4 separate regions of the Homo sapiens genome follow, and all the other regions are linked to region 3. The links are contacts of gene promoters, found by promoter capture Hi-C in blood cells and fetal thymus (Javierre and others, 2016). All regions are on one chromosome and are shown on one strand. The core of a region is centred on a gene start or on the middle of the fragment in contact, and the rest is flanking DNA. Distances in the headings are between cores, read along the strand shown. Region 1 holds the start of TMEM218 (transmembrane protein 218). Region 2 holds the start of TBRG1 (transforming growth factor beta regulator 1). Region 3 holds the start of RPUSD4 (RNA pseudouridine synthase D4). Region 4 overlaps CCDC15 (coiled-coil domain containing 15).

What was found. The method cuts DNA at HindIII sites, captures the fragments that hold promoters and counts their contacts. A CHiCAGO score of 5 or more calls a contact.
Region 1: a contact is called between a fragment that was not itself captured here and the fragment with the promoter of RPUSD4 in region 3, in 4 of 17 cell types (activated CD4 T cells, neutrophils, fetal thymus and 1 more). The highest score is 7.4, in activated CD4 T cells.
Region 2: a contact is called between a fragment that was not itself captured here and the fragment with the promoter of RPUSD4 in region 3, in 1 of 17 cell types (total CD4 T cells). The highest score is 6.7, in total CD4 T cells.
Region 4: a contact is called between a fragment that was not itself captured here and the fragment with the promoter of RPUSD4 in region 3, in 1 of 17 cell types (total B cells). The highest score is 6.8, in total B cells.

What each region holds. Positions count from the first base shown.
Region 1 is chr11:125,105,772-125,111,703 of GRCh38, forward strand. It overlaps TMEM218 (transmembrane protein 218), which reads right to left and starts at 5,855. Exons shown (of 5, transcript NM_001258244.2): 1 at 5,768-5,855. RefSeq lists an enhancer at 5,550-5,639. The HindIII fragment of the contact is 2,643 bases long and covers 2,769-5,411 here.
Region 2 is chr11:124,619,279-124,624,438 of GRCh38, forward strand. It overlaps TBRG1 (transforming growth factor beta regulator 1), which reads left to right and starts at 3,586. Exons shown (of 9, transcript NM_032811.3): 1 at 3,586-3,955. The coding sequence starts at 3,806. LOC124902779 (a long non-coding RNA gene) reads right to left here and starts at 3,923. Exons shown (of 2, transcript XR_007062932.1): 1 at 1-3,923. PANX3 (pannexin 3) reads left to right here. Exons shown (of 4, transcript NM_052959.3): 4 at 18-1,078. The coding sequence ends at 657. RefSeq lists an enhancer at 3,663-3,732. The HindIII fragment of the contact is 1,104 bases long and covers 2,275-3,378 here.
Region 3 is chr11:126,210,194-126,216,203 of GRCh38, forward strand. RPUSD4 (RNA pseudouridine synthase D4) reads right to left here and starts at 1,457. Exons shown (of 7, transcript NM_032795.3): 1 at 1,257-1,457; 2 at 697-862. The coding sequence starts at 1,445. It overlaps FAM118B (family with sequence similarity 118 member B), which reads left to right and starts at 1,589. Exons shown (of 9, transcript NM_024556.4): 1 at 1,589-1,637. It also overlaps the pseudogene RNU4-86P. RefSeq lists an enhancer at 1,242-1,471. The HindIII fragment of the contact is 5,382 bases long and covers 1-2,395 here.
Region 4 is chr11:124,957,116-124,962,754 of GRCh38, forward strand. It overlaps CCDC15 (coiled-coil domain containing 15), which reads left to right. Exons shown (of 16, transcript NM_025004.3): 3 at 2,000-2,149; 4 at 2,700-2,888. Among named protein-coding and RNA genes, the nearest start is that of CCDC15, 5.7 kb to the left of the region's middle. The HindIII fragment of the contact is 912 bases long and covers 1,144-2,055 here.

The sequences.
Region 1 (5,932 bases), core at 2,840-5,339, 1.1 Mb before region 3:
AAAATAAAGAAAACAGAAAGTGGGGCAAGGGTCAGTGGGTGTGAGGTGGGTGGCAGAACAAAGAATACGCAAGGAAAATGGAAAATACAAAATAAGATTGTAAAAATAAACCCAAATACAACAGTAATCATAGTACATGGAAACATTATATTTGACTACTAAAAGAAATTCTCTTAGATTTTTCTTTTTAAAAATAGCTGTGTACAAAAGCTCTACAGAAAGTATAATGAGAGGCTGAAAATAAAGAGATTGAGAAAGACATGCAAAGCAAATATTAACAAGACAAAAACCAGGGAAGGAGGGAATAGGGAGATGGTGAATGAGTATAGAGTTTCAGTTTTGCAAGATGAAAGCATCTTGGAGCTCTGTTTCACAACACTGTGAATATACTTAACACTGCTGATCTGCACTCTTAAAAATGGTTAAGACAGGAAATTCTGTTTTTTTGTTTTTGTTTTTGTTTTTTTATAAGCCACAGTTGAAAAAAAACCAAGTGAAACAAAATAAAATATAAGCTATGAAGCAATATTAGTACCACGCAAAACAGATGTAAAGCTCTGAAAAATATTAAGAACAGTGACAAAAGGAACCATTCAGTAAAAAGATACAACCTGAAACAAATGTGAACCTAACAACAAAACCTCCAAATATATAAAGCCAAAACTGACAGAAGTACTACAATAAATGTATAAAACCACTAATTTAGCAGGAGATTTTAATATATGTCTCAGAAACTGATAGATCAAGCAGATAAAAAAAGAATAAACACTTGAGAAAGAGGATACCTGAATGAGAATAAATATGTAAAAAGGTGCTCAACTTCATTAGTCATCCGGAAATTGCAAATTAAAACCAAATTCAGTGCCTTCATATACCCACCAGAATGGCTAACATGAAAACAACAGACAACAGCAAGTGTTGACAAAGATGTGGAGTAACTGGAACCCTCATATACGGCTGGCAAGGGCCATAATTTGTTAACCACTGCTTTGGAGACTATTGGCAGTATCTAATAAAGCTAAATATAAATGCATCCTACATCCAGCTCTTCTATTCTTAGGTGTATTCCCAACAGAAACGCACACCTAAATTCAAAAAAAAGACATTGCAGCCCTACCTGAAATAGCTAAAACCTTAAACAATCCAAATATCTGCCAATAGAGTGGATATAGTACTCTACAATCTATTCATTCATACAGTATATAAAGCATTATGTAGTATAAAGCAATGAGAATAGTATAAAGCAATGAGAAAGAACACACTACAACTATACTCAACAATGTGGATGAATTTCACAAATATTAAATGAAAAAAGCTAGAGGCTAAAGAGTTCATAGTATATGAGTCCATTTATATAATGTTCAAAACAGGTCAAACTAATTTTAGGGGCTGGAGGTCAGGCGTATGGTTGGCTTGTGAAACATAGTGACTGTAGGAGGTTCAGGGAGATGCTGATAAAATTCTGTTTCTTGATCTGGGTTTTGTTCACCTGGGTTTGTTCATACGGTGATGTTGTATCTAACCATGCACTTAGGATTTATATACTTTTCTGTATGTGTATTACCCTTCACTAAAATGTTTACAGAAAGAATATTAAGAGATGTATCAGCCATGTGTAGTATATGGACCCTTATTTGGTCCTGATTCGAACGAAGCATTGCAAAAACCTTTTATGAAATGATTGGGGAAATCTGAAGAATATTCAGATATTTGATAATATTATGAAATTACTGTTTGTATTTTCAGTGAAAAAACACTATTAAAAAGATGATATTATTATATTGTTAAAAGATTATTTATGATAAAGATATATGCATACACACGTAGCACATTACAGATAACAGAAAAGGGTTTCTAGGAGCTTTCTATTACCTCAGTGAGAGGAGGTGAAGGGGCTGACATGAAACAAGACTGGTCATGAGCTAGTTGTTGAAGCTGGGTGATGAGTGTGTAGATGTTTGCTAGCCTATTTTCTATATTTCTGAATATATTTTAAACTTTCATAATAAAAAGATGTGGATATGTGTGTATATATATATATATATCTGCATAAATATGAATATAAAAGATGAGTAAGATTTGTATAGCTAAAATTATAAAACTTTATCAAAGACAAAAAAAAAAAAAAGAGAGAGAGAGGACCTGAATAAAGAAATAAAGCAGACCTGAACAGAGAAATAACCTGTGTTCCCGGATGGGATGGTTCAATTAAAAAAATCTCAATTTTCCTTAACCTATAAATTCAATGCAATCCTAACCAAAGTCTAAAAACAATTTTTTGTGGAACTTGAAAACGGATCCTAAATTCATATGGAAGAGCAAAAACCCAAGAATAGCCAAAACAATTTTGAGAACTAGGATGGCAACTTGCCTTTCTTGTTACCAACTGCCGCAAGACACATTGAAAAACCAAAGTAATTAAAACAGTGTGATAGTGGCACAAAGACACATGGCCCAGTGGTATAAAATCAAGAACCCAGAAACAGATCCATGCATTTGTGAGAACTTCCTACAGCACAGAGTTGGCTTTATGATTCAATGGGTAAAGAACTTCATAGATAGTGTTGGGACAAATGATTCTCCAATAGGAAAAGAATAAAACTAGATCTCTATATGATATACAGAAGTTGATTTTAAATGGAAAGTAATTCGTAATGAAATAGCATATGTTTAAATATACAAATGTTCAGGCTGACTACACTAGAATACATAATGAAGTACAGTAGTCAGATGCTTGCACCTAAACTTAGAATCACCATGAATGCAAAAGCTTCAAATGCAGACTATGCAGGTGTGTTGTTCTGGCAACTCAAATACCACGAGCTGTGCTGCCTTCAGTTATGTGATTTGCTAGAGTGATGAACAACTCTTGTTAAAGTTCCAAACCACAAATAAGTATAATTTTCCTCTGATTTACATTAGAGTTGCATTCCTGGAAATTTTACTATATTAAACTGTGCCAAAAAATACATTATGTTTATACAAAAACCGGAGTTAGGCTCTACACTCAGATAATTATAAATGAGTATCCTGTGGGATACTCAAAATTTGCACAGGATGCAGGACAATTCTTCGTTGTGAGGACTGTCCCATACATTACAGAACATCCAGTATCCGCAGTCCTGATCTGTAAACCCCAGTAGTGCCTCCAATCAAAGAATAACAAAATACATCTTCACAAATTCCAAAACACCCTAAAACGGGCAGCAACATCTTCTTGGGGAACCACTGTTCTAGACACAGTCTTGCATAAAGAGACATGTACAAGGTGTTTATTGCAGCTTTGTTTACAATAGCAAAACATCAGGAAAAAACCTAAATGTCCATCAATCAGGGAACAGATACAATATTATATATTCATAATGAATACTTAAAATGAATGAAATTGATCTATATGTATTGATGTGAATATATCTCAAAAACAATGTTGAGTGACAAAAACAAGTTGCAAAATGGAACCCACAGTATGATACTACTTGTATTTTTAAAATTAAATACAATCTAAACAGTAATATATATTGTTTCTGACGAACGTATATACAGCAAAAGTATAAAAACATGGGCATAAACAATACATGACAATTTCAAAAGACTATTTGCCTCTGCAGAGGGAGGAAGGAAAGGGAATGGGGTTAGGAGTGGAAATAAAAGGGATCTGAACTAAATCTGTGATGTTTTATTTCTTTAAAATAAAAAACTTGAGCTGGTGTGCCAAAATGTTAATATTTATTAATCTGATTGGTGGAACATAGATATTATACTACCCAATGTACTATTTTCTGTTTTTAAATTTTTCGTGATAATTTTTAATTTTTAAAAAGGTAATGGGCAGCAGGATGCATATGAATTGGGTGACCAGTTAGGAAACTATTGCAATTCTCCAGATAAGAGATGATGAGGGTCTGACCTCCAGTCTTAGCTGTGTCAAGGGAGAAGGTGTTAGAAATGACACAAGTTTCTAGCTTAGTTGACTGAGCTGATGGTACTGCTCTTAAGAAAACAACTATTTAAATTTAATTTGTGCTATTCTGGATATTACACAAATAACCCAGAAGACTTGGACCAACTCTAACAGTTAGAATAGAGGGCAAATGGTAGTTGAAGCTGGCTGGCGCCATTAGAAATGTTGCCCTTCAATCCCCCTTAGTAGCTTAAGAGTTCGTGAGACATTGGATTTATATATGGTATGGCTTTAAAGTAATAAGATAAATATTCCCAAGCTCTTTTAAGAATGGAGCTCATAATTTTATAAGCAAACTATACATTTTCTTACTAAGCATAGAAAAGAAGGGCTGGGTATAGTATAGAGTGCTGCTATAGAGGAAGAGAGAACATCTAGTCATTTTTATCTTATTTAAATGTGAGAATAATATCTGTGATAATTTCCCATATTAGAATAGCTAAATTATTGTTATTGAGTACAATACAATAAAATATAAAAACGGGTTCATGCCATCATTAAACCTTCTTTGAGAAGTGATGGCTTGGCCAACCCGATTTCAAGGGTAAGTCCATTTACTTAATATCTGTGGCATTTAAAGCAGGTAGACTGGAGTGAAAAAAAATAATTTAAATTTGAACAGTTCAGCAGCTGACAACAAAAGCAACTACAGGGCTAATGTTTTCCTTCTGTGCTCAATGCTGTGAGGTTTTTCTCTGAGAGAGTTTGTTCAAAACCTTTTAGATGTGTGTGTTCATTTAATGGTTGTTTCTACATACCCTTTCATCCAGCTGTCAGAGAAAATAGGAATAAATGGACTGATCCCTGCACAGGTAACCTAATGGATTAAAAATACGGTACTCATCACCAGGTTGATCATCATGAGCGAGAATACTAACTGCCATTATAAGATGACTTATAAGATGACTTACTATCTAAGACAAATGTGGATTCCTCAGAGGGTAATGTGGCCTAAGTGCTGCTGCTGGAGGGAGATATCTCACCCATCCCCCGATTTTCACACTGACTCAAGCCCTTGAAAGCAACAGAAAACAGTGGGTTACAAGGAGTGAAGTGCTCCTCTGGAAGAGTCCTTTTCACTTTGCTTTATAGCTGTTTTCCAAACCTTCAAAAATAACGGGGGGGGGGGGTTACTTTCACACTTTTATGTTTCTACTTTAAACACTTCACTATCTTTTGAATTTTAAAATATTAGAATAACGCCTCTACCTTTGTAATTAGATAAAATGCAAGCCTGGGGAAAAAATCAGTTGCCAAGCTCCCAAAATGCCACCGATGTAGCATCTGCTCTTAACACGTTGATAGAAAAAGGAGGATCAGTAAACCTAGGTCTCTTCCTTGCATCCCTCTCCTGGACGGTGTTGTGGGTTGGAAGCGCTGCAGAGCCTCGGTCTATCCGCTCTCTGGATCTCACAGCACTGCAGCCTGGGAACACCCCACTTGAACTCTAAGCTTCTCCCCAACCCTGTTGCAGATTCAAACTGGCGACAGGAAAACAATGCCCCCCATGTCTCGTCTTCAGAATGTGCACCTGGCCACCTCCCAGGAGCTAGAGAGGGATTAAGGTCTCGGTCATAAGAGATCTGAATCAGGCACTGACACTTCCTTTTCTTAAGAGCATGAAACAAAACAGTCCTTCCTTCTCTGCCTCCAATTAAGTATTTATTAGCCGGGCCTTGGGTCCAGATCAGCGGTAAGGGTGGTCTGCGAGGTCCGTGCACCGCCGTCCGCCCACGCCTTCTTCCAACCACCTCAGCCCGACCCTCCACTTTTCTCCCTTCCCCGCAGCCGCCCCGCTTTCCTCACCTCTGCCCCCTTCACCTGGATCCACTCTCCCCCAGGCTCTACTCACACCTCAGATTCCGGCGCGTTCCAGCCCACGGGGCTCTGGTTTACTTAGGGCGAATCACAAGTGGGCTTTCATTTAGGTGATTTAAGATTCACTAATCAGCGTTGCTCTTTCAACGGCCA
Region 2 (5,160 bases), core at 1,577-4,076, 1.6 Mb before region 3:
TTCCTTCCACTGCCCAGGGCTCGGAAAGAACGATACTTTGAATTCCCTTTGCTAGAGCGGTACCTGGCATGTAAGCAGCGTTCACATTCGCTAGTGGCTACCTACCTCCTGAGGAACTCCCTCTTGCTCATCTTCACCTCCGCCACTTACCTATACCTTGGTCATTTCCATCTGGATGTCTTCTTCCAGGAAGAATTCAGCTGCTCCATCAAGACAGGGCTGCTAAGTGATGAGACCCATGTCCCCAATCTGATCACATGCAGGCTGACATCACTGTCCATTTTCCAGATTGTTAGCCTCTCCAGTGTAGCAATATACACCATATTGGTTCCAGTGATAATATACAACCTCACACGGCTATGTCGGTGGGACAAACGACTTTTATCTGTCTATGAGATGCTCCCAGCTTTTGATCTCCTCAGCAGAAAGATGCTAGGATGTCCCATCAATGACCTCAATGTGATCCTTCTTTTCCTCCGAGCTAACATCTCTGAGCTCATCTCTTTTAGCTGGCTGAGTGTCTTATGTGTGTTGAAGGATACAACCACCCAGAAGCACAATATTGACACAGTAGTTGATTTTATGACTTTATTGGCTGGCTTAGAACCCTCAAAACCCAAACACCTCACCAACTCGGCATGTGATGAACACCCATAGTTAAGAAACCATGGAGCAAGAAAGCTTGTGGAAAGTCTCTCTCCTTCCTCATAAGACATGCACACTAATACACATACACACCAAAAAATTACACATTTTAAAACTGCTAAGCTTGGATTTAACTGAATCATATATCTTTTATCATGTTATCCTAAAAGTGAGAAGACATAACCAAGACATGGAAATAAATGTGAAAGCTGGAGCCGAAGAGTCAAAGAGCTAAAAAATTAAGTCTAGAACATTCTATGAGGATAGTATAAATAAAAAGAAATACAGTCTAGACATGCTGCAAGGAAAGAAGATTCTAAAGTCCGTTTATGGAGGCAATTCCATATCCTTTCTTGAACGCACATTCAGCTTACCCCAGAGAGCAAGTGAGGCAATCTGGCAAAAGATTAATAAAGATGTAAACCCCTGGAAACCCTTTGGTGTGGCCTGAAATCCTAGGAATTTACCCAGCTTGCTTTGTAGAAGTTATCAACCTTGTCCAAGTCCTCTGTAGCCTCCAAAGTGCTGGGAGATGATGGCTTCAATTTGTAATCTGCTCTTAGGATGTAAGGACATAGTAGAACAAGGCTGGGGCCATGTCTCAGCCGTGAGTGGAGCCTTCAGGTGCCCAGATACACTTTTCACCATCTAAACCAGGAACTCATTTCACCAGGGGCTGGGATTATGGGCTATGGACTTCTTCACAACTGTTAACGGAGCCAGGTATGCTTTTAATACTCCAGAGGATACTATGCCTTCCCTTACAGCTAATCACTGAATAGCAAGCACTTACAAATGGGTAGACAGTAAAGTGCTATTGAACTTCTTTCTCTTCTGATTTATTACCCTATTTTAGCTTCTAACTCCCATTCCTATGCCTGTAGTTAATGGAACTTTGGTCTGACTTCAAAGACCACACTCAGACACAATATCATGCTGTCTGCCATTTTATATTTCTTTTTAGAGCTACACATTATGCATTTCTTTAAAGAATTTTTGCATAGGCCATTTAGACCCTTCTTCGTATAGTTAAGTAGAAAAGTTGTGTTGCTTCTGACAGATTCAGGTAAGTTTACCTAACACAAGCAAAGAGCTGATAGATGGTTTCCTATTGTCACTGGGTCAAAGTCCAACTCTTCAGTTGGTACACAAGACTTTTCATGACCCAAAAAACCCTACTTACTGCTTCAGTCTCTCTTCTTGCTTCTCTCTACACACATCTTTCACACTGATCAACTACTTGCAGTTCCCATACTGAGCCTTTGCATATGCTGTCTCCACCATCCAGCATGCCCCCCTTTGTTCTTCACTGGGCCAACCAACCACTACCTCTCCTTCAGAGTCTGCCCAGATGTATCTCCTTTAAGAAACCTTTCCTATCTCCTCCCTCCTTCCCTGAGTGCTGCCAAATAAAATAAAACCTACCTCTGAAACAAACTTATTATACCATATTAACATTGCCAATTTACTTGTCTGTCTTTCCTTCTTAAATTAAGGTTCTTAAAGGTGGTATCATAATAGGCACTAGGTAAATATTCTTCTAAACAAATAAGGACTGAATGAGTTGCTCAGTGGCATGACCTTTGTGGAGCACACATATCCAGCCTCTGAACAGTCCTATATGGAAAAAGCTTTGGACGCAAAGATATGCTTTTAATGGAATTGACCAAAAAGTCAAAGAACATGGAAATAATTATGCAAAATATAATATAGCCATAACTGGAATATTAACCAGCCACTTAAAATTATGCTTATAAGGAAGCTATACTAACATTTGTGAAACTGAAATGATACAATGGTAAATGAACAAAAAGAAAACTTTATTTTCAGTATTGTCTAACCTATACAAAAATGCATAAAATATTAGACACATATACTAACATGGTAAAAGTAGTTCATTCCAAGTGGTAGCATTATGGATTTTTAAACCTTTCTTGTACTATATTTTCTAAATTTCTAAAGTTCGAATGAAATGTTTTGTAAGTGTAAGGAAATGTGTCCAATGAAGAAGAAACAAAAAATATCTTCATGCAAATCCCACTAAAGTCCATTGGCCAAAACAGCCTGCAAACTAGGACAAAGGATAGCACTTTTCTTCCCCCTAGATGTGATACATGTATATGAAAATAAATAATACAAATAAAGTCAGACCCCAAAGCCCGCAAGGACAAAATACAGCAGAACAGCAAATTTTTTTTTTGAGAGAAAAAACTAGAGAGTTACTGAACTAGTTATTGGCATCGCTGGAAGAAGATGCAAGCAAGCCTTCTGCCATCCAGCCTGGGTCACTTACCAATACCGCACCCTAAAGATTTTTCTATCTTCCCTAATTTTAAATAGACCTTGGTTGTAAAGTTAGAACCATATACATGTACATATTATGTACAGAAATACACTTCTGGTTTCACTAGACAAACATTTACTGAGTGCCTACTTAGTGCTAGTATTAAAACTGCGTGTTAAATCTCTCATCTTCCCTACTAGAAAGAGCCAAGGCCTTTCTTCCTGTTCACTACTGTGTTCCCAGCTCCTGGGAAGATGATAGCATTAGGAGGCCCTGCAAACACATTTCTGTGAGCTGCAGAAAGGAACGAAGCAGGGAAAGAAGCAGAGTCCCAGCACTTGGGCTCACTTTGTCCTACAGTCTGGGAAAGCCTGTCTGCACGAAGCATGAAAAACGTATTAAAACGCAGTGGCCCAGCGGGGGAGCGTGAATGAGAGCTCGCATTGGTAAGCTTCTTGTTAGTTCGTTGGTTCAACTATAGTACCCTTCAGCTAAGCACACGGCCGCCGGCCCTCCCTCCTCTCCTCATCCAGCACTAGCCCCCAGCTGTCTCTTTCCTCCCGGTGCCCACGATCGCACCGCCCAGACCACCCTACTCTCCCTGCCCCGGAAGTTACACACTGCCGACACCGGGACGTAACTTCCGGGAAGGGCTTACTTCCAAGACAGACACGGAAGTGCTGGGAGGCGCCGGGAGCCCGTTCGGTTGCGGGTGTCTCTGGCCCTGCGGTCAGCCCTGGGAACGTCCCGGAGAGCTAGATTCCTAGAGGCCCGATTCCGCTAGCCCGGAACAGACAAAGCCAGCGCTCCCGCCCGCTCCCCGACTTAGGATCCGATGCCGGCAGCGTCCTGGGGCCCCCGTAGCGGGGCTGGACCATGAGCCTGCTGGACGGCCTCGCTTCCTCGCCGCGGGCTCCGCTGCAGTCCAGCAAGGCCAGGATGAAAAAGCTCCCGAAGAAGAGCCAGAATGAGAAGTACCGGCTGAAGTACCTGCGGCTGCGCAAAGCGGCCAAGGCCACGGTGTTTGTGAGTCTGACCCACGTTCAGCCGGTCCCCTCCTGGAGACTCCCTCACAAAATCTTTCCCCAAGCTGTTCCCCCTTCCCAGTGTGACAGTATTAATACAGTGTTGGCTTTTCCGTATACGTTACTACTTGTTAGCCTTGTGTCCTTGGACAAATTACGTAATTTCTCTGTGTCCTCATCTGTAAATGAGCTAGTAACTGTCTTGCAGAATAATGAATATTAAATGAGTAAAGAAAAGTGCTTGGTGCGTAAAAGACATACCAATAAATTTTAGTCATCGTTGTTACTGCAGGACTCTAGGAAATGTGTTTGATTCTCGAGATACAGCCCTGAGAATTAGGCATTATTTGTAAAATGAGAACACTGAAGCCCAGAGAGATGATTTGCCCAAGGGTACTGTGTCAGAGCCCTGACTCCAACTTAGATAAACCTGATTCCGTTTTATGACTTCCAGTACACAGACTATTTTCTGAGCACCTCAAATCCCCATAACTGACCCTTTGCCCAAAGAGGTACATGAAACTGTCAGTAATTTCCCCCCTCTAACCTTTGAGTGTTCCAAGTGTTTCTTCCTTTCTTTTATTGTAGAAGCACTGGATTTATTGAGTGAATAAACTTAATATAGCTTGCCAGCCATAACTTTATATTAGAATAGTTTGGCTTGCCTCAGTGCTTGGAAATAGGGGTGGAGTCCTCAAATGTCCCCCCACATCCAAGTCAACAGTTCATCTCTTCTCTCTACCAAAAGCTTGAACGTCTCTCAGCATTTTTGGAAGCATAAGGAAAGGTTCAGAAATTAGAATACACATTCCAAAAGCACTTATTCAGCACTTGCTATGTGTATTGCTTGCTATTTGCACTGGAGAGAAACAAGAAAAGTAAAACTAAGAGAACTTAGCATCTGATTGACTGTTCCCTTTCTTTTATCCCCTATACGTCAAAGGTACCTAAAGCTTGGAATTTATGTTATTTCAAGGATATTGGTTCCATCAAATACATAATGAAGATTTTGTGAAGAAAAAGCGATGTTGTTTTGAACATTGAGAGTTTGAAGTTCCACCTATGGGGGCATTCAGATTCAGCATTCCCTTCAGGATTGGTGCTTGGGAGATAGATTGAGTCATCATTTACAAAAAAAAAAAAAAAAAAAAGAAAAAAGATAATACTTGAATTCGTATAAGTAGATTGTGAAGTTTAAGAATTTTA
Region 3 (6,010 bases), core at 207-2,706:
ATCTGGAAAACAACTTCATTGGGGAATGGAAAGGCAAAAAACTGTTGCGAAAATAAAGAGAGAAAAAAATTATACAAACACTTGGTGATGTGATTTAATTCCTTGTCTTTGTGAACAACTATCTCCGTATCTCCCCAAAAAGCATTACCTTCTTCTAGCTAAAATGGGCCTTTTCCCTCTTTCACAAATGCATTTTTTAAATCAATCTTTCCTGATTCACTTCAGCTGTCCCTGACAACTACATGCAACATCTGTTGAAAGACATTTGAAGGTCCACTAAATTCCAGTCACTCTGGGGTTGTATGTTACATATACTCCAACATACATACACACACACACACACACACACACACACACCCCCTTTTTTCTTATGTATCATTTTCTCATTCCCAGTTCTGATGGAAGATAACCTTTAGTCTAGAACCACACAGCCTTTGTATATCTCTACAGCGATCCCTGTAGTCTGCACACAGCGTATTCTACGAATTGCTTACTGTCAGATGTTTAGAAAGGGAGGACTGTCTTATTTATTTATTTCTGTGTTCTCGGTGGTTCCTTATATTGGACGGTAGTTTACAAAAGTTTAATTAATTTGAATGCAAGGCTTTAGAGTGCACCACAAGTAACGTCTCAGTTTTCCTCGGTTGTAGCAGAAAGCAGCTGCAGGTTCCTCCACCTTTCCCGCGTGGTCCTTACCATGCACAGGGAGACCGTAGGGCTTATTGATGACCACAAGGTTCTTGTCCTGGTGGAGAATTCCTCGGGTCAGTGCCTTAGCAAGCACGTTGGGGTGGACTCGCTGCAGCTGCCGTGTGAACCGCACTATTTCTTGCACTCTCCGCTGAACAGCGTTTGTGGACACCTAGGGAGAAAGAAGGAGCCGTGGGGAATGCCTGGTGCGGAAGCCGTGGAGAAGACCTTCCATAAAGGTCTGGGTGAGAATCTGAGTAGGGAATGACTATCTTTGCATCAGACCCGCGCCGCCTTCGACTAATTTGAGAGCAGAGATACCCATCTGTCTAACCTGCGTACCGACGCAGTGGTTAGGACTGAGCCTGACAGTAGCCAAAGATCCAGCTCACGGGAAAACACCGTACCCTTACTGACCCCTCCCCTCCGCCTTCTCCCCATTCTCCCACCTTGCGTCCGGGCTATTGACTCACACGCTTTCACTCAGAGGACCCTCCTACCTACTCCCCGTCTGGGAAACCAATGAGCGCACTGCCTCTAGGGAGTTCTGGTCCCTTTGGACTCACCGGCTCCTTCTTTGTGTCTTGTTCCCGTTTCTGGGCTCGGAGCTTCTCCGCTAATCTCTGGGCATTTATGGCCGTAGAGGCAGCGGCAGCGGCACAAAATGGCTTTGAGACGAGAGTGAAGAGACTCCCGCAACCTTGGCCGTTTCCCCGGATCCAGGGGCCCGACGCGCTCCACCTGGGCGCCGCCATCTTACAAGGAAGGGCGGGGCGAGCCAAGACCACGTGGAGAAGGGCGACTACAATGAGGCGGGAGTGGGTGGGCCCTGCAGGTCACGTGGTGCGGGGTGGGGCCTGGGCGAGTCACGTGGGGACGGTGCGCGCTCAGTGCGGCTGCGCCGGCCGGTAGCTGCAGCTGGAGCAGTGGCGTTTGGAGGAGACTCGGTGAGTGTGTAGGGAAGCCGGGCTGGGGCTGGGAAATGCCGGTGCCTCAACGGTTTAACGTTTTCTGCGTCCCCGGGATTTCCGTTCAAGAAGAGCACTGGTCTGAGAAACGTTTCTCCTTTTGGTACACGATCCCACTCAAAAACTCCTCCCCGCCCCCGCGCCCCCTTAGGAGCGATGTCCCATAAACGCTCGCCCCAGAGCCCTCCTAGGCACCGACGCCGTCCCTCTTAGCCACTGAATCTCCGGTGATCCGCCAGTCCCCTGCGGGACGCGTCGGGGACCCTCTTGATCGGATGCCCGGATCTCTGTAGTCTCTCCACCCTTCATCTTCCAACTCCCAGCCTCTTTGTTTCGCGTTGTAACCTGTACCCTTCTCCTAAGGATGACGGCCCCTTCCCTTATCCAGGGCCCCCAGCACCTATTTCCTACTTAGGAAGCACTGTGAGTGTTTTTTCTGCCCTTCCTCAAGAATTCATTTCTTGGGGGTCTCCTCCCTACCTTCCCTACTCCTCCTAAAGAAAAAGCTGAAAGAACGGAGCACAGACCTTCACTTTTCCTGTTTCCTTTATTTTTCCTCTCCATAGTTTGCAACCACACCATACCTCCTCTCACGAGATGCGATGTTGGGATTCCCTTGCCCGAACTGCAGGCGACTCCCTCTGATTTCACTCAGGGGTGGCTGGGAAGATAAACATCTGTTTGGGATGGTAGTGTTAAAAATAACTTGGGATATACCTGCCATTTGTTAAGAGGAAAGCTTATGCTGAGTTCAGAAAGAATGTCCTGAAAACTAATGGATCTGTGACGATAGAAGGAACAATTTTTTAAGACTGCTTGGAATGAAGGCTGCCTGAGGAGTTATTAGAGAATAGGTAGTTGAATTAGATTTGGGTTCTACACCTCCTAAAGGGTTTGGCAGAAGGGAGCCGTACCAACAAGAAACAAAGTTGATCAGGTGGAGCTACTCATAGAAGACTCAAGTTGAAGAGTTTGAACTAGAGGTGATACGTAGTGAGGAGTCTTTGAAGCTTTTCGAGTAGGGCAGAGAGACTCCTTGAAAGTGGAATTCTGGAAATGAATCTGGCAGTTGAATGCAGGACAGATGGGGAAGGAAAGGGTTTGATAGTGGGGAAGGAAAGGGTTTGATAGTAGGAAAACTAGTTACAATCTAGGTGGTCAGTGATGAGGTCTGGTCTTTTCCCCCTACACTGTAACTCCTTTGAGTTTGAATTAATTGAGTTATGCAGGTCAAGGCGTACTCTTGGCAGCTGCTGTTGATCTGTGAGTCCCTGGAAGAATTTTTTTTTTTAATCCACTCACCTGGCACATAGTAAACTCGATATCTGTTAGATGGCTGAAGTGCATCATAAATGTATGCTAGGTGTGTCTGAACATTTTGAATTGTCTTATTTCTGTCAATGTTTGGCCTGAAGAATGAAGGTAGAGGAAGATGTATTTGTAAAGTGGGAAAGAAGCAAGGCTTGTGTACGTTTCTCTTATAAGGCAGGTGTAAATGCAGATCCAGATACAAATGCAAAGATTTCCAAGGGAGATTGGGAAACATCTGTTTCTCCTGTTCCCCACCCACCCCCTGCAAATTTACCAGTAAGACAGAGGTCTATAAAAGTTGAGAAATTCCACCCTAAAAGAATTATTACCTTCCATGCTCCAGACCTAGGTTCTAATTTCACTTGAACATCACATATTACTTAGATACTTGAAGCTCAATTTTCCAAGGACCCTGAAGTTTTGACATCGGGACTTAAATTCATATCATTACATTAATTAAAAACTTGTTTTGGGTACAGGACTTTTATGGTTTTGTGTCGGGGATGGGAGAGGCTGTTTCTACCCTAACCTTATGGCATTCAAGAAACTACACCTGTTCTTGCAGAGTTGGCCTTCTGTGGCGGGAAACAAAATGAAGAACCAACTCAAATGTCATTGCTAGTGACACAGAGCTTATGCTCTAGGGTTTCAGGTTAACTCAAAGCACACACTTAGTGACTTAAGAATAAAAATATTGGTCCCTTTTTTCTGGAGAAGGAACTTTTAGGTTTGTCTTGTTGAAACTTTGTAGAGAAATTTAAAGAATTCAAAGTTTTTGTTTGGTATGACAGTGCAGCTTTAGCCAGTATGGGTACATAAGTTATGACATCCTTAATGTTTCTCCGGTGAGTCTAGGCACTTGGTGATTTAAAGTAGAGTTGTTCTCAGTATAAAGAATTTATGTGGCCGGGCGCGGTGGCCCACGCCTGTAATCCCAGCACTTTGGGAGGCTGAGGCGGGCAGATCACGAGGTCAGGAGATCGAGACCATCCTGGCTAACATGGTGAAACCCCCGTCTCTACTAAAAATACAAAAAAAAAATTAGCCAGGCGCGGTGGCAGGCGCCTGTAATCCCAGCTACTCGGGAGGCTGAGGCGGGAGAATGGCGTGAACCCGGGAGGCGGAGCTTGCAGTGAGCCGAGATCGCATCACTGCACTCCAGTCTGGGCAACACAGCAAGACTCCATCTCAAAAAAAAAAAAAAGAATTTATGCAAATGTCATGTCTTTTTTTTTTTTTTTTTTCCAATTTTCAAAGAGCAATAATCACCCCTCAGATAAACCTCATTGGCTGCAATACTGCCACTGCAAAAAACTCTTTTGTTTCTGTTTTTTTTTTTTGTTTTTTTTTTGTTTTTTTTTTTTTACCTCTATATTGCCTCCTCCCTGTTCCTCATTCAGCTGGTCCTTTTTTAGGCAGTTCACTTTTCCACTTCTGCGCCAATGTCACAGTCCATTTGTTGGGAACTCCTCTTGTCTAAATGTTTTCTTAGAACAAGGAAGGAAATTCTATTAGTGATTTCTTCATTCTTGCAGACTACGGCTCTGTTCAAACATGACTTATTTACATTGATTTTGATATATCATAATATGTGCCCCTAAAGTAACCATATAAAGAAGAACTTGATAGTTTCTTTTTAAAGATATTTCCTAGTCTATTCAGGAACAAAAAGGCTGCATTAGTATTTCGCAAATATAAACAAACAAGGACTAACTAATAAAGGAACTTGCGTTTATCACAAATTTAAGGTTAATTAGTGGTATAAAGTTAAGTTACGCCTCCTCAAACTGTGATTTGCTAGTTGCAGATTAACCAGCGATTCCATTTCCTTGAAGAGCAGGAAGTACTTGGACATTGTTTTATGGTTTTAGAGAGATTAAAGGAGGCAATTAGCAGGAACTCTTGGGAGGTGCCCTGGAAAGTACAGTCATTGGGAGCCAGGAGATGTGGGACTAGTTCCAGTTCAGCCGCTGCGTACTTGAACAAATAATTTGGGCTTCAGTTTTTTGTCATTTGAAAGATTTTTGCAACTCTGTTTCTAGTCTATGAAGATTTTCCACTGATACTGAAATACTTCTCTTTCAGCCCGAATTAGTGGGATTTATTTCAGATTTATCTTGAATACATTTAGCATTGATACTAAGAAACTGGATTCTGCTCTTGTCCCCAGAATTTAACTTTTTGCCACTGAGCTAATGTTTATGTTTGGAGGTTACTTCATTGAGTGGTGTTGGAATATACTTTTAAGATTTCTGGCCAGGCGCGGTGGCTTACGCCTGTAACCCTAGCACTTTGGGAGGCCGAGGTGGGCGGATCACGAGATCAGGAGATGGAGAGCATCCTGGCTAACACGGTGAAACCCTGTCTCTACTAAAAATACAAAAATTAGCTGGGCGTGGTGGCAGGCACCTGTAGTCCCAGCTACTCGGGAGGCTGAGGCAGGAGAGTGGCGTGAACCCAGGAGGCAGAGCTTGCAGTGAGCCAAGATCGCGCCACTGCATTCCAGCCTGGGTGAAAGTATGAGACTCCGTCTCAAAAAAAAAAAAAAAAAAAATGTCCTAAATGGGGGTGGGGTGCATGGCTCACACCTTAATCCCAGCACTTTGGGAGGCCTAGCGGGGAGGATCTTTTGAGCCTAGGAGTTTGAGATCGCCTGGGCAACATAGCAAGACCTCGTCTCTACAGAAAATCACAAAATTAGCTGGGCATGGTGACGCACCTATGGTCCTAACTAACCCTTGAGGCTGAGGTGGGAGGATCATTTGAGCCCGGGAATTCAAGGCTGCAGCTGCAGTGAACCATGATTGCAGTACTGCACTCCAGCCTGGGTGACAGAGACAGACCCATCTCAAAAAAGAAAAAGTAATTTGTGTAATACAGTTTAAAAGTCAAATAGTAATAAAAGATTTGGAATTAAAAAACAGTTTCTCAGGCCAGGTCCAGTGGCTCATACCTGTAATCCCAGCACTTTGGGAGGCTGAGGCAGGTGGATTGCCTGAGGTCAGGAGTTCAAGACCAGCCTGGCCAACATGGTGAAACCC
Region 4 (5,639 bases), core at 350-2,849, 1.3 Mb before region 3:
ATAAAGCAAATAATACTATGTAACAGGAATTTGAGCAGGGTACAGTGGTAATGGCTTGTTTCTGCCCCATAGTGTCTGGGACCTCAGCTGGGGCTCAAATAACTGGACATGTCTGAGACACCTTGACTATTTTCCGGCTATTGGCTGGAGCTAGACAATAGTCAAGTTCTCCCAGTAATGTGGCACCTGCTGGGCTGTAATGTCCAAGATGGCTTTCTTATTCACATATCTGACGCTTGGCCTAGGATGACTAGAATGTCTGGGTGCTGGTTAGATATGTTTCTCTTTTCACATGGCTTCTCTGTTTGACTAACTTGGGCTTCCTCACAGCATGGTAATCTCAGGGTAGTCTGAATTTTTATATGGTGCTGACTTCCTTCAGAATGAGCACTCTAAGAACAGAGGTGGAAGTTTCTTTATGACCTGGCTTGTAATCTTGTGGAGTAAAAGAGGAGCAGAGAAAATGGAGGTAAAAGAAAGAGGCCGAATGGCTTAAACTTGTCTGGGGCTTGAGTTAAGCTGGGTCAGTTGTTCAGGCTTCATTACGTATATATCTCTCCGTTGGAATTATTTTACCTAATTGTTCTTTGACACTTGTACACTCCACTAGAGTAGTTTATGGGATAGACATCTTGGAAATTTTAACTTAAATTGAAATTTGAATGCATTTGATTTTGAGAATTTAATGACAGCCTGTAAAATGATCTGAGGTACCCTTCAGAATTAGAAGTTGGAATCACTGAGTTAGAAGGAATAGGTACGAGATATGATGATGATTTTATTTAATTTGAAAATTCCTAGTGAAAGAGAGACATAGTCAAGAGAAAAGCAGTGTAGAGAGGAACATAATTGTTGGAGTCAGAAACTTCTAATTCTGCTACTAGTTAGCTATATTAAAATTACTTAATCTTTCTGAACTCCAGCTTCCTCATCTGTAACATAAGGGATAAGAATACCTACTGCCAAAGGTGGTTTTGAGGATAGAGTGCTACAAAGTAGTTAAAATACTTGTCACCTGATAGATCCATAATAATGATAAGTGCTGTTATGATGATGACTATGATTATTATTCAAAGCACTTAGAGGAGATAAATGCAGATCAAGAACTCAAATGGGATAAAGTGTTCCAGATTGTTCAGAACAAGCTTGTCCAACATGCGGCCATGGGCCACATGTGGCCCAGGATGGCTTTGAATGCGACCCAATGTAAATTAATAAATTTTCTTAATTAACACTATGAGTTTTTTTGTGATTTTTTTTTTTCTCATCAGCTACTAGTGTTAATGTATTTTATGTGACAGTTCTTCCAACATGGCCCAGGGAAGCCAAAATATTGGACACCCCTGGTTTAGAATATGTTTTGGAATTGAGCAATTATATAAATATATATTGACTACCCTTATAGTGAAGGCTCTGTACTAGATGCCGTAGGGGAAATAAAGGAGAATTGAATACATATCCTGTCCTCAAAGAGTTCATAATCTAGTAGGGGAGTCAAGAAGTACTATACTCAGTTAACATTGGTGAAATGAGAGGTGTTATAGCATAAGAGGGCTTAGAGAGAGAGTGTTGTGGAAGGTACTGGGGAGTGGGTATTAAATGGTTGTGAAAACTGAATAGGCCTTTACTAGGTGGAGATGAAAGGAAGGGCATGCCAGGTTAAAAATGGAGCATAATGCCAAATATGAAGACATTTTAACAATAGGACATATTTGGTGAGTGGTAAGTAACCTGGTGTGTCTTGACTATTTACTCCATTTTAGAAAATGTGTAACGTGTTAGGTTTTATTTGGTTCATTAAGATTTAATGAAGACATCGTTAGTTCTAATTCAATAAAAAATTTAAGATTTGATACTCATACATTCCATTTTTTTTTGTACAGAATGGAATTATTTTTTTCAGGATTGTATCCTTATCCTGACTGTTTTGTGTTTAAAACAGCCCTAATGGACAAAACTGCTAACATTTAAGTTCATTTTCTGTCTTTCATCTTTAAAGACATCAGCATATTTAATTGAAGAAGAACTAAAGGAACAGCTAAGAAAAAAACAAGAAGCTTTGAAACATTTTCAGAAACAAGTTAAATACCGAGTAAATCAACAAATTAGGTTGAGAAAAAAGCAACAGCTTCAGAAGTCTTATGAAAGAGTAAGTTCAAAAGTGAGCCTGAGTAAAGATTGAATGGAAAATATGTGTGTTATGAGATAAGCTATTAGGCAGTAACAGAATTGCTTTCCTTTGATTACATGCCTAATATAATCTAATTAACTAGTGAAGACAGTAAATTTTTTTTGTAGAGAAACCATGTTTTATTCCTGTGTTCTGACTCAATTTTTTGCTTTTACCAAGTAGTTAAAAGCAATGTCAGAATTTTGGGTTCAGACTTGAGTTTGAATTTTGGCTTTGCTACTTCTAGCTATTGACTTTTGGCTAATTACTTAACTTCACTGATTGTAGTTTCTTCATCCATAAAATAAGGATATGATACTTCTCTCATAGGATTGTGTGAGAGTTAGATGAGATAACCTAAATTATTAGCACATGGGAGGTGCCTGGTAAATGTTAGTTTCTCTGCCAGCTAAAGCCTCTCCCCTGCCCCCCACCCCAATTTAAAATCTTCTGAACTGCTTTAGAGGCATTATTTGATTGCTCTGGATTGGGGTAGAATGTTACTATCCCCCTTTCTTCTTTCGTGTAGGCACAAAAAGAAGGCTCCATAGCCATGCAGTCTTCAGCAACACACTTAACTTCCAAAAGGACAAGTGTTTTTCCAAACAATTTGAATGTTGCTATTGGAAGTTCTAGGTTACCTCCTTCCCTGATGCCTGGGGATGGAATAGAGGATGAAGAGAATCAGAACGAATTATTCCAACAACAAGCCCAGGCTGTAAGTACCTGTTCTTTTTATTTTATGTCTATGATATTTTCCCTATCCCCTAAACTATAAATATGACATCTAGGGTATGAGGTAGGGATTAAGAGTTATCACACTCAGCTTCACTTTTGATAATCATCCCCCTTTTTTTTTTTTTTTAGCTTTGTAAAGTGGGGAATAGTGGGATAATGCTTTTTAAAAATTTTAAATTTAAATTCATTTGTGTTTGGTAAGATACTCTAAAATTATCTAAAGAAAAGTGCCGCGGAGCCTGCAGTGAGCCGAGATTGCGCCACTGCACTCCAGCCTGGGCGACAGCGAGACTCCGTCTCAAAAAAAAAAAAAAAAAAAAAAAAAAAAAAGAAAAGTGCCAAAGTGCTAGAATTCAAAACCTATTAGAAAGCACTTTAGGTCAAGAACATGGATTTTCCAAGTTATATTGAAATTATATTCTAGGCAAGCTACTATTAGTTTGTAATTTACAGAGAGAAATAATTCTTACCTTCGTTGCAAAGAAGTTCAGTATACATAGGTGGCATTTCATTTATTATTTATCTTTGTCTCATTTTTCTTATTTTTGTTTTTTAATCTGATTATCACAATAAATGAATCTATAGTTGTAGGTTAAAGAATAATACATAGTAAATTCGTAACATATCCAGAGTTTTTGGAAAAATGTAATTTTTATTTAATGACTCATTTTATATACCTAATATTTAAAAATTAACCACTGTGAGTAGATTTCATCCATTCACATTGCTTGACTCTGTCCATTTAGCCCCCACCTTAGTATACCTGAGCTTTTGTCCAGTTGATACAGTCTTCAACTCTGCTTCAGTAATTGTTCTTCATCTTATTTAAAATGTATTACTAGAAATAATGAGAGGAAGAGAGAAAATATGGAAAATTATGAGTATGTGAAAATAAAAGCTGTATTACTGCTTAACATACTTGGTCAAAATTTAATTGTGCTATTAGTATAAATAGGAAAAGTTTAGAAGCACACATTATCATGTTGAACTACTATTAAAATTTTTTTCTTTGTCCACAACTATTTGACTCTTTCTTGTCATTGTTCAGTTTGTAATAATCATTTTTATTTGTTTAGCAAATATTTATTGAGCCAGGCACTGCATAAAGTACAAGGAATAGAACATTGACTTAAGACAGACACAGTCCTTGCTTTCGTGGTGCTTGTAGCTGTTAGTCCCACTGTAGTGAGGATTTTACTTCATCTGTTTAATACAAAAATAGAACTCATCAGTCAGCAGTATTTGCCTATGCTGTTTGTTATGGATTGTAGCGATACTAAGGAAATGTAAAATAGGACCTTCCATGGGTTTATATTTTCAGGTAGAAATACAAAACTAATAGACCACTCATTGTATCAGATAATAATATAGAGAGATTTTCTGTGTTTTGCAATAAAGTTGTGCTATGGGAGTTCAGAAATTTTTAAGGAAACAGTAGGGGAAGAATTCATGGGAGAGATAGACTTGAACTACACATTTTGTATTGGTAAATTCAAGAGAATTTGTTTTTCTTAGAGACGGAGTCTCACTCTGTTGCCCATGCTGTAGTGCAGTGGTGCAGTCCTGGCTCACTGCAACCTCCTCCTCCTGAGTTCAAGAGAATCTCCTGATTCTCCTGCCTCAGCCTCCTGAGTAGCTGGGGTAGGTGCCTGCCACCATGACTGGCTAATTTTTGTATTTTTAGTAGAGATGGGGTTTCACCATGTTGGCCAGGCTGGTATCAAATTCCTGAGCTCAAGGGATCCGCCTGCCTTGGCCTCCCAAAGTGCTGGGATTACAGGTGTGAGCCACCACACCTGGCCGAGATAATTTTTTCTTAAAAACCACCCAAACAAAAAAAAAGCCTAGAATCTCCAATGAGCCAGGTGTATTTGGGAATAAGTAATGGAACCTTTCTAATTGGTAGTTTATAATGGAGAATAACCAAAAATGGGGTTGGATAAGGAGGAGGAAATCAGGTTATGAAAAACCTTAAATGTCACAAGATTTTTTAAAGTTTTTATAATACCCCCACACTTTTTTTTTTAAAAGGACATGAACTACTGAAGAATGCTCAGTGACTTAACTATTTTGAGCCTGTAAACTTTGTCCATATGACTCCATGACAATAGATGCTTTCTGATCTTACCACTTCTGTTGCAGTTTTTATCCACTAGATGTCACCGTGAAACTAGACAATGAGACAGTTCAGGCACGAACTCCCTTAGTTTATCTAGAACTGGTTGGGTAAATGGTACACATAATTCACTTTCTGAATGTTAGTACACGTCTCAGTTTTCTCGTGTTGGTGTTATAGAAACATGTGATCTTGGAGTTGGAAGAGTTTCAAACATTCATCTGACATGTTGAAACATTTATACATGAAAGTATTTGATGTCTGGAATATACTTAAATAATAAAAGAATGAGGTAAAGTAGGGAGTTACGGATGAAGCAAGATTGGCTAGGAGTTGATAGTGCTAAAGTGAGGTATCCATATCTGTCCATGGTGGTTCATTATAGTGTTCTGATTACTTCTGTATATGTTTGAAGTTTTCCATAGGTTTGAATTTATTTATATTTTTAATTAAATGTTAAAAAAGAATATTATCTGGTCCTATCTTTCTCTGTCCAAGGAATTCAGTTCTTTTTTTTTTTTTATTATACTTTAAATTCTAGGGTGCATGTGCACAACGTGCAGGTTTGTTACATATGTATACATGTGCCATGTTGGTGTGCTGCATCCATTAACT